2 separate regions of the Homo sapiens genome follow, and region 1 is linked to region 2. The links are contacts of gene promoters, found by promoter capture Hi-C in human tissues and cell types (Jung and others, 2019). All regions are on one chromosome and are shown on one strand. Each heading gives the region's core, a stretch centred on a gene start or on the middle of the fragment in contact. The rest is flanking DNA. Distances are from core to core; before and after follow the strand shown. Region 1 overlaps BANP (BTG3 associated nuclear protein). Region 2 holds the start of SLC22A31 (solute carrier family 22 member 31).

Region 1 (2,975 bases), core at 392-2,891, 1.2 Mb after region 2:
CTGGCGCGGAGGAGCAAAGCCCTGGAAGGAAGGAGCCCAGGCCCCTCCCGTCCAGGGAGCTGCCACACCAGCCCAGGCTGCCTGCCTCAGACTTCCTCAAAGCAAAGGAAAATAAACAACTACCTGGTTCAAAACAGGGTATTCTGGAGCCCACCACGTGCAGCCAGACTAAACCCAAGGACATGCCGAGGCCCTTCCACAAACAGCCCCGGGTCCAGAGAGTCCAGGTTAAACTCCTGCCTCTCTTAAGGGGCCAGTGGAAATAGTTTTAAATGCCCAATTCAAGCTTTTTGCTAGTTTCTAAAAGCTCTGCAAGTGGCTTCAGAAAATGCTCTGAACTCACCATAAAATCCTGAATCCTAACCTCTTCCAAATGAGGACACCACACATTATTCGAGTTGTTTACTCAAAATGCCTCTGTTGCCAGGATCAAGAGTCATTTAAAATTCTGCTAACAGTAAAGATTTCAATAGAAAAAACTAGGGCAACAAGCCCAAGAAAACTGGAACACAGCAATGCCTGTGGTTGCTATTTTGGCAAATTAAATTTGCCATTTCTCAGAAGTCCTGGGGATAGTCCAGTCTTAATACAATAAAACAGCTGGACTGAGACTAATGCTCAAGCAAGCCTCTTACTCTGACGACTATTCAGAACCCTACCAAGTCCACCAAGAGATGCAGGGCTCAGGGCGCATATGGGAAAGCAGGGCCTACAGCCCAGAGTAACACCCTGAATGTACAGCAGAACAGGAGTGGTGAAGAATCCACGCCCATCCAGATTGCCAGACACCACCAAGTCATTCACATGGATGAGACTGATTTAATTACATGAACCAAAATGGAAAGATCTCCAGAATATGATAGCAAAAGGAAGGCATACAAATGGAAAGCTGCACAGCGGTGCGGATGATATGATCCCAATTCTGCTTCCTAAACATGGTGTCCACGTGTGGTCATCTGTCCAGGTGTGCCAACACATCCAAGACAGTTGGGGATGACAAATAGCAAACCTCAGGCTACCCAGAGCAGGGACGCTCCAACTGCACGAGCCCCACTCTCCTGTCCACTCCGCCCTCCTGGACTGCTGAGCTTTCCATAGGCCTTATTCCGTAGGCCTTACTTATTTATTACCTGTGAAACTGTTTCTACAACCAAGTGATGTGTCTACAGGCAAGGCCAACTACATCAAATCTTGATAAACTTTACAGAACCATCTTTAACCTGGCCTTAAATCCACTTCTCAGCCACCAAGGCATGGGGACCCACACATTCGGGCAGGGATGGGGAGAGAATCCACATCCAATCAACCTCAGGTGCGCCTGATGCTGCAAGCCCCGCCCAGCCCCGCCCAGCCCCGCCCAGCCATGCGAACGCTCCCCTACTCCTGGACCCTCTGCGCCTCGGGCTTAGTGGGTGATCCTGCTCTCCTCCCTCTCACTTCCCAAGAATGCCCACTCCTGCCTCCTCGGGCATGTGCCCCACACCCAGTCAGCACCCCTCCCTGGTCCCTCAGCATCACCCTTGCACACCCTTCCCCCACGGTGCTGCCCTCCCTCCTGCCCCTCCAGCCCCAGCCCCATTTCTCTGTTCCCTTTCAGATAAAATTCCTCAGAAGCCCCGCCTGTACTTGCGGTCTCCATTTTCAGTGCTCACATCCCCTCCAGATCCCACCCATCGGGCTGTCACTCAGTTACTCCCCCAAAACTGCTCCAGCCCAGATGCTGCCCCCATTCTCCCCACCACAGGGCCTGATGGGGCTCATTCCGGCTCCTCCCCACGCTGTCCTCCCTGCCTGGCCCCCACTCCTCTGTCTCTCTGCTGGTCCCACATCCACTTCCTGACTTGAGGATGCATGCCCAGGGCACGGCCCTGGAACCTTTGCTCAGCCAGCACTGACCCAGCGGCTCATCAGTCTGTGGCTTCAGATACATCTCCACGCCAATGGCGCCTATCACCCTGCCAGCTCAGACCTCGCACATGAACTCCAGGCCTCACACCACACCACCTACTAGGTGTCTCCCCTAAGGGGTCGTCTCAATTCTAACATGTCCAAACTGAGCCCCTGTCACCCACCCCAAACCAACCTGCTTCTTCCACACTTTCCACCTCAATTTAAGGCAACACCTACTTCCCAGATGCTCAGGCCAAAACCTCAGGCCTCCTGGGTTCTCCTCTCCTTCACCCTGATCCGGCCTCGTCTTCCCAGCCTGTCACTCCCAACCTGGACCCAGGCCGCCCCTCAGACCTGCTCACATACGGCCGTCTCACTGTCACCTGCACCTCTGCTGTGATCACGATAAAGAGCGCTCAAGGCGTCACATAAAAACACGTGCCAGGCTATGCCCCTCATCTGCTCTAAGCCCTCCGAGGGCTTCCCATCTCACGGGCCCTCTGCAGCCCCTGGGGCTCTCCTCCCCGCCACGCTCACTCGGCCCCTGCATTTGGGCCTCCCCATGCTTCTCAGGGATACACTCAGCTCAGGGTCCTACCACGGAGCTGGCCACCCCTGCACGCCTCCTGCACGCCTCCTGGACGCCTCGGCAACGGTGACGTGCACAGCAGCCTTTCCTGCTCTACTGTCTGACTTACTACACATCTGAAAGGTTTCTCTTGCTTAGTGTCTCCTGCTAGAAGGTGAGCTTCACAAGGGCAGGAATTGGCATGGCTGTGTTCTCAGCAGGGCACCGGGCCTGGCCCGCACCGCATCCAGTGAATACGTCTGTGATGAGTCCAGTGAGAACACACCACTGACGTCATTCCCCAATGCACAATGATGAATGTCAGAAATGCTATTTAAAAACCATGGATTAAGGTTTTCAAAGTGTGTTGTGCCCATGTCCTGATTTCAATAAGGACTGTGCTATAATTAAGTTACTAATCTAACTACTCAGTTCATGAATGTGGAATCAGGGTGATTGACACATCTGATGAACAGTGCCCATCCACTGTCAGCAAAGGCTAACGGTAGCTGGTCAT
Region 2 (3,188 bases), core at 104-2,603:
CCGCAAGCCCCGCCTCTCAACCTTCCCGCCCCTCAACCTCCCCGCCCTATGCCCCAGATCGGGCCCCGCCCCTTTACGCCTTAGGCCCCGCCCTCACACCGCCCGCCCCCACACCCCGCCTCCACTGGACTCAGGCTCCGCCCCTTAATGCCTCGCCCCAAAGCCCCGCCCCAGGAGCCCGCCCTGGTCCAGGCCCCGCCCCGTCCCGAGCGCAGCCTGCGACCGATGGAGCAGGAGGCGCGGGTGCTGAGAGCTGCGGGCGGCTTTGGCCGGGCCCGGCGCCTGCTGGCCTCCGCCTCGTGGGTACCCTGCATAGTGCTGGGGCTGGTGCTGAGCTCCGAGGAGCTGCTTACCGCGCAGCCCGCGCCCCACTGCCGACCGGACCCCACGCTGTTGCCCCCAGCGCTGCGCGCCCTGCGCGGACCCGCGCTGCTGGACGCCGCCATCCCGCGCCTGGGGCCCACGCGAGCCGCGAGCCCCTGCCTGCTCCTGCGCTACCCCGATCCCGCGCCCTGCACCCGCCCCGGGCCCGCGCCCCGCGCCCGCACGCAACGGCACCCGGCCCTGCACACGCGGCTGGCTCTACGCGCTGCCCGGCGCCGGCCTCCTGCAAAGCCCGGTCACCCAGGTGCGCCCCCGTCCCTGCTGCCCCGCAGCCCTCCCCGCCCCCAGCCCGCCGAGGCCCTGGGTGTCCTTTCTCCATCCTACCTGGCGCCTCTGACCCGGGCCCCCCGGCCGTCCTCCTGGGCTTCCTGCTCCGGGGCGGCCGCCGGCCCGACGGTGCCGCAGACGGGCGCGCACGGGCCGGACCCGCGGAGAGGGGCCGGGCGGGGGCTGAATCTGGGCCTGGGAGCTGCCAGGCGCGGGGCGGCCTGGGGCGCTGGAGGATTGGAGCCGAAGGCGCCGGTGGGGGAGCAGGGCCTGGAATTTGCTTCAGGACCACCAGCGTCTTCAGCAGACCGTGGCTTTGGGCTGGCTTTCCAAGGCAGAGTCTCTGCTTGGAGGGACTGACGTGGTCAGCACAGACTGGGGAAGGTGGGCTTCCCATCAGTGAGGTGCGCAGAGGCTGGGCTAGAGACTGCATTGCCTGAAGGGAAACCTTGACGATCTGCGTGAGAAGAGATGGGGAGGCGGGCGGCAGGGACCTCCAGGCCCCTTTCATGCCTTTCCGCGCTGGGGCTGAGACCTGCACACCCCTGAGGCAGCCTTTACCCCGAGGCCCCCATCCCCCATCCTGGGAGGACTGGCCCCAGTGTGGAAACTGGAACGGGGTTGCCACATCTTCACAAGGGCTGCCTGGGGCCCTGGAACCCGCCGGGCTTCTCTCTCCACCCTGCTCCCTCCCACCTCCCACCTGCCCTCCTCCTGTTTGGTGCCTGGATCCAGGAATGCCCCATCAGCTTTCCCAAAACGTCAGGTTTGAAAGTAAAATCTCGGGCATAGCACGGCCCCCAGCAGTAGATTAAGCTTGCCAAGAAGACCCAGGAACCGGAAGGGGTGGGGGGAGGCGCAGAGCTGAGGTCAAGGGTCAAGGGCCTCACCGGGAAATGCCGCTGAGCACAGCTCTCCAGCCGCTGCCCGAGTCCCTCTTGAAATGGGCAGGGCAGGGAGGGCGTGGGTACCAGCGCAGGTGCTGGGGTTCATTTCTTAGGCCTGTGTCATGGCTATGACCCTTGGCCGGCTGGGGTGGGGGCTGTGTCTATGACGCCACCAAGGCCCTGGGTGTCCCCGGGGTCCCTCGGAATAGGAGGTGGAAACGGGTCGGACAAGAGCTGGCCGTGGGGGAAGAGCAATGGTGTGCGGAGGTGGGGGAGGCCCTATCTAGGGACAAGCAGAAAACTTAGGGTGGGCAGATCCCCCCGACCCCTGTGCAGGGGCTGCCGGAGACCAGAGAGGCTGCTGTGTGACCTGGACCAAGCCCCTTGCCCTCTCATGCCTCAGTTTCCCCTTCTCTCCACGGAGGGATTGAGCAGGACATGGAGGGCCCCTTCCAGTAGCCATTCTGGGACTCCCTGCACCTGTCCCCAGGGGAGGGTCCTGAGCTGGCCTCCACGTGGCTGCTGTTCCCCATAGTGGAACCTTGTGTGTGGAGACGGCTGGAAGGTCCCGCTGGAGCAGGTGAGCCACCTCCTGGGCTGGCTGCTGGGCTGTGTCATCCTGGGAGCAGGCTGTGACCGGTGAGGCCCCTTCCCTTTTCCTGCTGCCCAGCAGCCCTCCCCTCCGCCCACTCTCAGGGTTCAGCTAGACCTGGTGCTGCCAGGATGAAGGTTGGACCCTGGGTTATCCTGACCCTGTCCAAGCATGTCCCCCGCTGCCCACCAGGTTTGGACGCCGGGCAGTTTTTGTGGCCTCCCTGGTGCTGACCACAGGCCTGGGGGCCAGTGAGGCCCTGGCTGCCAGCTTCCCTACCCTGCTGGTCCTGCGCCTACTCCACGGGGGCACATTGGCAGGGGCCCTCCTCGCCCTGTATCTGGCTCGTGAGTACCCTGGGGGCTGCTGTCACTGGGGGAGGGGCAGTGGGTGGCCCGCAGGCCTCTGAGGCTCCCTTGCCGAGGGCCCCGAGCTGCAGGGACAGTGAGCAGTGAGTCCCTTGGGCATCCCGCTCCTGGGCAGGTCACCAATAGGTCCCCGCAGTTCCCAATGGAACTGTTCCAGTCCTCCCCGAGGCCTCCACTTCAACCTGTCTGTGTCTGCCCAGGCCTGGAGTTGTGTGACCCTCCCCACCGCCTGGCCTTCTCCATGGGGGCTGGCCTTTTCTCGGTGGTGGGCACCCTGCTGCTGCCCGGCCTGGCTGCGCTTGTGCAGGACTGGCGTCTTCTGCAGGGGCTGGGTGCCCTGATGAGTGGACTCTTGCTGCTCTTTTGGGGGTAAGTGTGGTGGGAGCTGGGCCAGCAGCCCTCATCGGGGCTGACTATGTAGCTTCCCTCTGCACCGACGTATCCCATGCCAGGTAAACGCATGGGTTACAGGGTCACAGAGAACTACAGTGATGTCCTGCCCCTGAGCCTGGGGGTGGGGTGGGGGCCCTGGCCTTTGCCTCTCCTTCCAGGAGGAGGTGGAGGGAGCCGTGGGCATCCTCACCAACGCTGCAGGTTCCCGGCCCTGTTCCCCGAGTCTCCCTGCTGGCTGCTGGCCACAGGTCAGGTAGCTCGAGCCAGGAAGATCCTGTGGCGCTTTGCAGAAGCCAG

What was found. The method cuts DNA at HindIII sites, captures the fragments that hold promoters and counts their contacts. A contact is called where the count stands out against the background at its distance.
Region 1: a fragment that was not itself captured here is called in contact with the fragment with the promoter of SLC22A31 in region 2 in 1 of the 25 tissues and cell types used here (dorsolateral prefrontal cortex).

What each region holds. Positions count from the first base shown.
Region 1 is chr16:87,963,992-87,966,966 of GRCh38, reverse strand. All of the region lies in intron 1 of BANP (BTG3 associated nuclear protein), which reads right to left. Among named protein-coding and RNA genes, the nearest start is that of BANP, 14 kb to the right of the region's middle. The HindIII fragment of the contact is 6,313 bases long and covers 1-2,975 here.
Region 2 is chr16:89,198,702-89,201,889 of GRCh38, reverse strand. SLC22A31 (solute carrier family 22 member 31) reads left to right here and starts at 1,353. Exons shown (of 9, transcript NM_001384763.1): 1 at 1,353-1,412; 2 at 2,074-2,177; 3 at 2,323-2,477; 4 at 2,699-2,867; 5 at 3,093-3,188. The coding sequence starts at 1,389. RefSeq lists a silencer at 197-286 and enhancers at 579-1,201, 2,450-3,073. The HindIII fragment of the contact is 13,129 bases long and covers 1-3,188 here.